Regions from separate parts of the Homo sapiens genome. Here region 2 is linked to region 1. Evidence: promoter capture Hi-C in 16 types of primary human blood cells and fetal thymus (Javierre and others, 2016). All regions are on one chromosome and are shown on one strand. The core of a region is centred on a gene start or on the middle of the fragment in contact, and the rest is flanking DNA. Distances in the headings are between cores, read along the strand shown. Region 1 holds the start of LPIN2 (lipin 2). Region 2 overlaps NDUFV2 (NADH:ubiquinone oxidoreductase core subunit V2).

Region 1 (5,324 bases), core at 96-2,595:
CTCTGGCTGGGTACGGCCTGAGGATGACTGCCCTCCAACAACTGAGGATGCTGCAGGAGGACCAGCCCAGCACCTGTCTCCATCCCCTGCACTGTGTGGCCGGCTCTGCCGCTTCTCCCCCGCTTCAGCATCACCTGCCACTTCTTCTCAATCTGAAGCCACTAAGAACGATCAACACCAGACCGTTAAAACATAAACCAGTATGGGCCACTAAATAATTCGTAAATATTTCAAAATGTATTTCAAAACCGACTTTGTATTGTCAAAACATTATAATCTAGCCAGGCCAAGTTTTAATAAACAGTAACACCCATCATCACTACTGGGTAAAGAACTTCATTCAACAGGACCTACCTTGACACCAAGTCTAGAGCCTCGTTTTCAATTAAAAAAAAAATGGGTAAGCCCCAAATGTGCATTAAAAATTAGTTTGGCCATTTACTAAGTAGTCCTTCAAAGCATTTCCAAGTATTCAGAGTTCCAGTACTTTTCGGAAAGGAAGGGTGATCTTTCTGGTACTGGTTTGCATAATTATGCCTAAAAAATGTCATCTTGAATTTTCAATGAAAAGAGTCTTAAAATGTTCAGGCGAGTGGAGAAAATGGTGATCCGCTGGCGTTAGAAGTGGACAGAGAGGCTCTCAGTACAAACTGTATCTGAACGTGTTCCTCACAAATTAAGATCTGCACCGGGGGCTGGGGGGCTTTGAGAAAACTAACCACATTTGAATCCGGTCCACACAGCTTGAAGGCGGAGGTACGGGGCAAAGCGCGGCGGGGAAGAAACACCAGCAACTCGGCGGCCCCCGCCTCGCCGCAGATCACGTGCCCGGCGCCCCCTCCCGCAGGGCCGGGGGCGGGATGGAGACGCGGCCTCCCGCGCGCCTTCCGCACTCCCCTCCGCGCCCCAAACCCAGGGGTAGGGGTGGTCTCGGGTAACCATCCCCAGGGCGGCGGCGAGGGAACTGCGCGGGTTCAGAGTCCTCAGCAGCCACCACTGACGCCCCGACGCCCCCGGCTCCCCGCGCACCCCGCCGGTCCGTCCTGCGGCGGCGGCGGTAGGGGCCGCGTCTACGTGGCGCGGTCGCGGCGAGGCGGGGACTGGGACGCGAGGACCGGGAAGCGGGGACCGCGGCGCGAGGAGGGGCGGCTCAACCCGCGCCGCCCCGGAGGGTCCCGGCCTCCGGCAGGACAGCCCCGGGCCCGCGCCAAGGGAAGCCCCCAGGCGCAGACACTCACCGCCAGCCCCGGAGGGACGCCTGCGAGGAGCCCGGCCCGCGCCCACTTACCCACAGGGGCTCCGCTCCCGGCCAGCGGGCGGCTGAGGGCAGGCGGCGGCTGGACTGCGACGGCTAGGACCCGCCGGGGAGGGAAGCCGAGGGGGCGGGGCCGGTCGGGGGCGCGCGCGGGGTCGGAGCGCCCGCAGCCGCCGCTGCCTTGGAAGCCGCCTGGGCCGCAGCTGAGTCGGGCGGCCCTCATGAATGGGACGCCGCGGCTGCGGCGGCCGAGCCGGCAGCTGGCGGGCGGGCAGCGCGCAGGCCCCGCCCCAGCCACGTGACGCGCGCTCCCGGCCGCGCGCCGCGCCCCCGCCGCCGAGCGCCAGGCGTGCGGCTTCTCACCGCTCCCAGTCCCTGGGCTGCGCGCCCGGGCCCCTGGCCAAGTGAGGGCGGGGCCTCGATTTTCTAGTGCCTCGGGCGACAGGAGCCTTACTTTGTTTTAAAAAAAAAAAGTTTCTTCCGGTCCCCATGGCAACCCTGCGGCAGGTCACGTGGGACTGAGAGCCCAATTGCCAAAAAGGAATGTTAAAGTGCAAAAAAAGTCTAGGGAATGAATGTTTTATAATCCCCTTTTGATCACTAGTAGCACATCTCCTTTGCTTACTTACATCTCCACCGAAAAAAAAAAAATCCTATTACACAACTCATTTTTAAAAATATGCCGGGGTTCTGTTGTTTTTTGTTTATTCTTTTTATCGCTCTGTTACCCCGGCTGGTCTCCAACTCCTGGGCTCAAGCATCCCCGCACCTCGGCCTCCCAAAGTACTGGAATTACAGGCATGAGCCACCGTCCCCAGCATTAAAATATACTTTTTAAGAAATGGGTGGCTCACGCCTGTAATCCTAGCACTTTGGAAGGCCGAGGCAGGCGGATCACTTGAGGTCAGGAGTTCAAGACCAGCCTGGCCAACATGGTGAAACCCCCGTCTCTACTAAAAATACAAAAAACCAGCCGGGCGTGGTGGCGCGTGCCTGTAATCCCAGCTTCTCAGGAGGCTGAGGCAGGAGAATCAGTTGAACCCGGGAGGCGGAGATTGCAGTGAGCCGAGATGGCGCTATTGCACTCCAGCCTGGCGACAGAGAGACTCCGTCTCAGAAAGAAAAGAAATGGGGCCCGGCGCGGTGGCTCACGCCGGTAATCCCAGCACTTTGGGAGGCCAAGGCGGGTCGATCGCCTGAGGTCAGGAGTTGGAGACTAGCCTGGCCAACGTGGCAAAACCCCGCCTCTACTAAAAATACAAAAATTAGCCGGGCATGTTGGCTGCAATCCCAGCTACTTAGGAGGCAGAGGCGGTAGAATCACTTGAACCCGGGGGGCGGAGGTTGCAGTGAGCAGAGATTGCGCCACTTCACTCCAGCCTGGGAGCGAAACTCTGTCTCAAAAAAAAAAAAAACAAAAAAAACTGGATTGCTGGTGCTATATACTATTGGTGCACACTGGTTTTTAATTTGCAGCCTATTCTATTACTATTCTATGATTGAAAGTAATGAACAGAAGCCTATGTTACTTCTATATAAATGGCAGTTAATTTATGAGGTGCATCTTGTGTGTGATCATTTATACAGTTCTAAGGGTACTGAAATAGGCATTTGCATACACAAAGCTGCTCCTTGAAGGATCCAGCTGCAGCCCAGTTTCTTCCCACCAGTGCCTGGTGTAGCTGGGCAGTGCTTGGATTCAGGGAGCAGGCGACCACTTCTTCACTGAAGTTCCTTCTGCTTTTCTGTGAAACTCGATCAAGTTTTGCCCCATCTGTAATCAAGGCCCTACAGAAACATAGGTAGTTTCACTGGCACAAGACCACTAGGAATTTTCCTCATTTCACTGCTTCTCACTTGGCTTCACAAGTAAAATAAAAATTGAAGAGGACTAAAATATCCCCCTCCGTATTCAATGGATTTTATAAATATGGAGAAGAAAAATTAAAGCTAGAGAAAGAATTTAATCCTCAGTTTCTACGTCAGTAAAATAAAGATAGTAGTGTCTTTCTTACAGAATTGTTTTGTGGATTCCCCGTGATAACCTATAAAGTGCCTACGTTAGTGTCTGCAACCTGGAACAGGCTGTTAGCGTTTATTTTCTTTCCTTTCTTCCATTTCTCCCACTTAGACTTTTCCTGTTTCTCTCAGGCTATTTTCTCTATCTCTGCCTTGGGAGGGAAATATTCTGCCAAGCTCCCTTCCTTCCTTTCATCATTCAGGAAGCCCTAGAGCTCCCCTCCCTTCCTCCAAACAACCTTGCGTTTGAGACCTCACTCAGAACGATTGGTTCATATTGCTAATATTTTCCTCATTTTCCCGTGTCCACCAGCTTACACTACCACTTAAGTGGTGACTCATTAAATGTTTGTTGCATGATAAATCCCTTCACCTCCTGCCCTAGGAAGTGTGGAGGGGCCACCCCAGGTCCACCTACTCCACTGGAGTGTCAGAGGAAGAAAGCGCTTCCTTCAACTGGCCTCTGACCCACCACCTTCCAGCTCCAAGGTGAGGAACCTCACTCCACTAATTGTCCCCTCTTCCTCAATTCTGGCTTCATTCCTGCACTTGAAAAAGAAGCTTTTGTGGCCCCTCCGTTCCCCCTCAGGCTGTCGACTTATCACACAGCTTCTCTTCCCACCCAAGCTACCTGAAAGAGTTTCAGGTTTTCTCCCATCTTCACAGGGTTGCTCCTCCTCTAACCCTGAAACTGCTCAGGCTAAAGTCACTATGACCTTCTGGTTGCCGAAGAAAACAGACCCCTTTCCTGTCCCATGCCTCATGATCTCTGCAGGGCAAGATGCTGTTGATCATTATTTCCTTCTTGAAACTCTCTCCTCCCCTCATTAGTGGGAACTCCTCTGAATTCTACATGCCTGTGCTCAGTGGCTTTCAACGTCTCAACCAGCAAGGTCCACAGTGATGTCAGATTCAAACCCATTATTTGTGCTTCTTCAAACCTGCTCCACCTGAATCTCCTATCCTGGCTGATGGCGCTGTCATCTGTTTAGACATACTTGCCAGAAACCTAGGAGGGAGTCTCATTTCCCTCTACTCCCATGCTGTTTCCATCACTCCTCCTCATTATTCCTCCTCATGATTCCTACTCTTGGTCCTCTGTCGCACCACTCACCCCTGCTTGTGATTAGGCCCTCGCCATTTCTCTTGTGGTCCATTGTAGGAATATGCCAGCTGGTCTCCCTACCCTCTAGTCCTGCCCAATTCTAAGCATCCTCTACTCTGAATTGCAGACCTGGCCATGGCACAGGTGGTTGGCAACCCATTGTCTTGACGAAGCAAGCCAAGTTCCCTAGCGTGGCATCCAGTGTGCTCCTTTTCTCTCTAATTTTCTCTCCTGCTCCTTCTAGTCTGTATGCTTCAGCCATTCCATCATCCCTTTTGCAACAGGATTTTTTTTTTTTTTTTGGAGACAGGGTCTCACTCTGTTGTTCAGGCCAAAGTGAAGTGGTGTGATCACGGTTCACTGCAACCTCAAACTCCTGGGCTCAATCGAGCCTCCCACCTTAGCCACCCAAAGTACTGGAATTACAGGCTTGAGCCACAGTAGCTGGTAAGAATAATTTTTCATATATTAACTTCTGTGTTTTTCCTTAGAGTTCTCTCTTTCTTCTTCTCCTTATAAGAATGCACCCAGGCATTCTGCTTGTCTCAGGAGGTTGTTGGCAGAGTGGAAAGCAGAAGTTGTCTGCAAGACATTTCCTTCCTGTCTTTTATTTCCAAAACACTATGCTCAGTGAGGAACCTGTCTCAGTCAAGGGGGAGAGGGCCAGGGAGAAGGCATATCTTTGAGGGAATCTGGAAAGCAGAGAAGGATTTTCTCTAGAATAAGAATCAAGTATCCCCGACCTGGAGTTGGAAGGAGGTGGTCCTATGCCCTCCTGTCTGGCAGCTCCCAGGGGAGGTGATTCAACCTTAGAAAAATAGCTTTGTTATTCCCAGCTTCTGCATCTCTTTCTCTGTGAGGACAGAGAATAGCTAGCATTTTCTGTACCATCACTGTGTGCCCAGCTCTTCTAGTAATTCAACTTCTATCATTAACACCAGTTTA
Region 2 (5,249 bases), core at 2,320-4,819, 6.1 Mb after region 1:
ATGCCCAATTTCTGCCTCCAAAAAAAGAAGAAGTAAAAACTAAAAGGCAGAAATGAAATCCACAAGCAGATAGCCCGGTGCCACACCCTGGGCCTGGTAAAGATCAACCCCTGACCTAATTGGTTATTTATAGATTACAGACATTGTATAGAAAAGCACTGTGAAAATCCCTGTCCTGTTCTGTTCCATTCTACCCCCTGCTTGCTCAATCGATCACGACCCTCCCAAACAGACCCCCTTAGAGTTGTGAGCCCCTAAAAGGGACAGGAATTGCTCACTTGGGGAGCTCGGTTGTTGGAGACAAGAGTCTTGCCGAAGCTCCCGGCTGAATAAAGCCCTTCCTTCTCAGTGTCTGAGGGGTTTTGTCTGTGGCTTGTCCTGCTACAATGGGAGTGACATGGAACAGCCTAGGTGAGTGCTGTGCATCACTGCTAAGGGACCTTGAGCTTGGGAAACCCTGTCTGTAAGAAAACTCACTCAACTTTTGCCCCAGGAGAAGGTATTTTATACAAAAATAATAGAAAAGATGGTCTTAAACAAAAGCTGTTCAGTGCTGCTGCTCACCAAATGCACAAACCTAAGACCCATGGAAATCTTTCTACCAGCCTATTTCTTCCTCCTTCCCCACTTTCTTTAACTAAAAGAGAAATTTATGAATTAATTTCAGTGGAGAAGTAGATGGTTTTTTAACCATCAAATACATTATAATTTTACTAGAAAAAGTATAAGCATTATACATATGGATATAAAGAAAAAATAATTATGTGCAAATGCAAGAATATTGGCAGTATGTTGTGTTTGACAGTAACTCTTTGATAAAGTCAACTAACAGCACAATTTTTTAAAAATAGGTGTAGTTTTAAAATGCAGTTGTTTGGATCTTTTTTTTTTTTTTTTTTTTAGTTATTAAATGTTTTATCCTTGTGTCAGTTAAGCAGGTGATAATGCTTTACAGGTTATATAGTACTTTCAGAGAAACTTTACTTAAATCTCAAAATAGTCCAATAAGAAGATAACCCTGTTTTATAGGTACAGAAATTGAGGCTTAAAAAAAAATTAAGTGAGTTGTTCTAGGTCAGATGTTAGTAAGTGGCAGAATGGTAATCTAAACCCAAGGCCTCAACAACTACAAAAAATCTGAAAGTCTGTTTTTTTCCTAGAGTTTAGCTACTTTATCCTGACCCTTCTCAATCAGTAGTCTGTCTTCAACGATTTGGACTTCAAACCACTTTTAGAAATATGTCTGTGAACTCATGTGCGTATCCAGAGCTTTACAAGTCAGCAAGAGAATGCCTCAGAATAGATTTTCCAATATGTAGCAACATAAGCCTAAAGAATAATTTTCAAGATTATCTCTATATTTTTATTTTAAGTAAAAGTACATGACAGATCCTGGATTAATGAGAAAGGGATCAAATATTAATCCAAAATGGAAGCTATTTTAATTTAGACATTTGGTGGTATTTAATTTGATATACAAGGAGGTTAGAAGGAGAAATAGGTTTTACAATAGAGATAAGTTTTTCTTATACCTGCTGAGTGTTTTATTTTAAGTAGGATTTTTTTGGCCAGTTAATCCATGCTAATAGGAAATTTGGAAAATAGAGAAAAATATAAAAAATGTAAAATAAGAGTCCCTTATTTCATTAACATCGTAATAAGAGATAAGCACTTTTAATTATTTATGGCCTTCTAGTCTTTTAATCAGTGTCTGTATTTAATGTAATTGGGATGATAATTTATGCATTTTTGTTTTTTTTGTTTTGTTTAACCCTGATTCCAGTTTCTACATGATTATTTTTACGACATATTTTTGTTAGCTACATAACGTTCTAGTGTCAGAATTATTAGTATTTAGTTAAAACCTGCTCAGATTGGGTTTTTAGGTTGTGTTTTTGCTGCAATAAACATAATAGGAACAACATGTTTTCATGTAAAGCTTTATCCTCATTTTGTACTGCAGGAAAAATACCTAGGTTAGAATTACTAAATTAAAAAATGGACACTTGGGGCCAGGCGCAGTGGCTTACGCCTGTAATTCCACCACTTTGGGGAGCTGAGGCGGGCAGATCACTTGACATCGAGAGTTCAAGACCAGCCTGACCAACATGGAGAAACCCCGTCTCTACTAAAAATACAAAAAATTATCCAGACGTAGTGGCACATGCCTGTAATCTCAGCTACTTGGGAGGCTGAGGTAGGAGAATCGCTTGAACCCGGGAGGCAGAGGTTGTGGTGAGCCGAGATCATGCCATTGAACTCCAGCCTGGGCAACAAGAGCGAAACTCCGTCTCCAAAAAAAAAAAAAGACACTTATTTAGGCTTTCCATATATCATGGTAATTTGCTTTCTAAAAGGCTATATGAATTTTTAAGTGTGCTTGTTTCTCTATATGCTCAACAGAATGGAATGCTATCTTAAAAGAAAAAAGATACTTGGTAGTTTGATAACTAGTAATGTTATTTTAAGTTGTATGTTTTTAGTTACTAGTAAGCAGTTTGAATTCTGTGAAACTTTTGTTCATGATCTTTACTCATTTTTTAAGTGCATTTATGATCTCTTCAGGCTATTAGCCTCTTGTCATCAAATGTGTGTAAGATTTAAGACTCATCACTGTCAAGTTAATGGATGAGTTCTCAGAGGCAAAGGCTTTATAGAGAAAAGAAGATAGGAGTGTGAACTGAGCCCTGAGGACAGCCTGCAAGGAGTGGATAAAAAGCCAATAAACAGAAAATGTTAGTGTTCAGAAATTAGGAGAAGACTGAATACTTTCCCTACTCTTAAAATTAATCCTTTTATTATAAGTATACAGTCTTTTCTCTCAGAATTTAGTTAAGTAACTCACTGATGTTACTCAAAAATTGTTACTCGATTAAAAAAATTTTCTGAGCTAAGATGACAGTGACTGTCTTCTAAATTTTAGTTTCAGTTAATTTTTCAAAACAAAACCAACACAATCAAAGCCCCCTTGTGCACCTCTGACTGTATCCCTCCCTGCCTTCCAATTATCCTGAAATTGATATTTATCACTCCCATCTTTTGTACGTGTGTCTCACATCCTGTACCTTAGTCTTTTCTTGTTAATTAAAGCAGATGTTCCATGTAAACTTATTTATTAATATTTCTTCAACTGAAATATCATTTGGACCTAGGGTAAAGTTAAATATACTATTGTGTTATATTACTCCGTTTACTTTCTTCTATGTTTGCCTTTGAATTGTCCAACTCTTTGCTAGTTCCATGCTTGGTTTAACCCAGCCAGTGTTCTGCCGTCTGTGGTTAGTAGAACTCAGAAATTGGAGGAATCCAGAACAGTAGTTGAAATACTTGGGGGCGGGGGACAGGGTAGGAGTGGAGGGTAGGAGCAAGAGGGCAAAGAGAAATGAAATGCAGCTGAGAGAATAATCAGATTCCTTCCAAAGCAACTGAACATTGTCAGTCCGCATAGCATCATAAATAGCTTTCTGAAACTACTTTTTTTTTTTTTTTTGAGACGGAGCCTTGCTCTGCTGCTCAGGCTGGAGTGCGGTGGCGCGATCTCGGCTCACTGCAACCTCTGCCTCCCAGGTTCAGGCGATTCTCCTGCCTAAGCCTCCCGAGTAGCTGGGACTACCAGCGTGCGCCACCACGCCCAGCTAATTTTTGTGTTCTTAGTAGAGATGGGGTTTTACCATGTTGGCCAGGATGGTCTCGATCTCTTGACCTCGTGATCTCCTTGCCTTAGCCTCCCAAAGTGCTGGGATTACAGGCATGAACCACCACACCCGGCCAGAAACTACTTTTTACGGCTGGAGTTTCAGAACTAATTTAGTAAAGGATTGAAAAGGAAGGAGGATACAGTTGACTCATTTGTACAGAGTATATGACTCATTTGTACAGAATGAAAACATGTTTATGAAGGTTCACACTAAGTGAAAGCTGGCATCCAAGTTGATTCAGACAAAAGTGAAAGTCAAGAAGTTAATAGTACATTAATTCTCCAAATGCATGCCAGCAGAGCGTGGCAGGAAGGTACACAAGTCAGCAGATCTGGGTTGTCCTGGTTCTCCTATTGACTCGTGTGTGTGATGTTAGGTGGGTGAATCTTGGCTTTGAATCTCCATTTGTAAAATAACTCTCCTGAAATAGAGATGGATAGGGTAGAATACCATATTTCTTAAGATCTTTTATAAGTTGATTCCATTGTTGTAAATTATGAATCCTAAAGTATTTCTTTATGAAAAATTTTTTAAGGCTATGATTTACTAAACTTTCTTAAAATTTTAAATTTTAGGGAAGACATGTAAGGAATTTGCATAAGACAGTTATGCAAAATGGAGCTGGAGGAGCTTTATTTGTGGTAAGTAATTACTTAGATTTCTTTGGAAAGAAAAGACTTGGAAATTGGGGTAAATCCATTGTAAAAATCCAAAATATCTTAAATACCATTGTCTTTGATATATGATGGTCATCGTGAGAATTTACATACAGCTAATTGAATTTACTACATTTCAAAAGATGTTGGTTCCAGTTGAACCTCATGAGTTTAAATTAGTATCAGGAAAACTCTGGGAATAAGAATTTATTTCCAGTGAAATTACTGTGTGAGCCCTAACCTGATTCTCATCACACTTTGGGTTCTCAGTCATGTTGGCTTACTGAGAGTTTGGAGATTGTAACTTGTTGAATCCCAAAATGACACTAGTTTGAAACTCATGGATTTTAGTAATGTAGTAACTAGATTAGCAGCTGGTCTTTATATTTTTAGTTTCCGGAGTTTTAACTATAAATAGAAGTCTGTGAACTCCCCAGATTAGTTGCACAATTTGGAAAGGATAAGATATTATATCTCCCTTTTCTGACAAGGTGCTGTTTTCAGGGATTAATCTAGTATAAAGGCAATATAGTGGACTTGTGTGATGATTTAGAGTTAGTGGTGTAAGAAGTAGCTTCCTGCTATATATCAAGCATCAAATTGGCCACATATTTGAGATCATTGTCCAGAGTGTCTGTTTTCTTTCCTCTTTTGGCTTATGTCCTTTAAAAAGCAGAACTCCGAGAGTTAACATATCAAGAGATTCATTTCTGTATTCACCACACATACATAACATTAATTGATCGTAAGTGTTAATCTCAGTGTGACTCATTTGATTTCCTGTTGACATGCCATTTCTTGTCAGTTTTTGAAGAGGGCCTGCTTCTGCTCTTTTAAGAAGAGATAAAGCTTCTTGCTGTTGGCTATTATGGAAAACGTGGGAAAGAGATGGTGC

The links. Contacts are between HindIII fragments. The CHiCAGO score rates a contact against its expected background, and 5 or more counts as called.
Region 2: a contact is called between a fragment that was not itself captured here and the fragment with the promoter of LPIN2 in region 1, in 1 of 17 cell types (total CD4 T cells). The highest score is 8.2, in total CD4 T cells.

The regions. Positions count from the first base shown.
Region 1 is chr18:3,011,799-3,017,122 of GRCh38, forward strand. It overlaps LPIN2 (lipin 2), which reads right to left and starts at 1,346. Exons shown (of 20, transcript NM_001375808.2): 1 at 1,289-1,346. RefSeq lists a silencer at 787-1,736. The HindIII fragment of the contact is 8,581 bases long and covers 1-3,833 here.
Region 2 is chr18:9,113,565-9,118,813 of GRCh38, forward strand. It overlaps NDUFV2 (NADH:ubiquinone oxidoreductase core subunit V2), which reads left to right. Exons shown (of 8, transcript NM_021074.5): 2 at 4,274-4,339. Among named protein-coding and RNA genes, the nearest start is that of NDUFV2, 13 kb to the left of the region's middle. RefSeq lists an enhancer at 84-333. The HindIII fragment of the contact is 3,264 bases long and covers 1,938-5,201 here.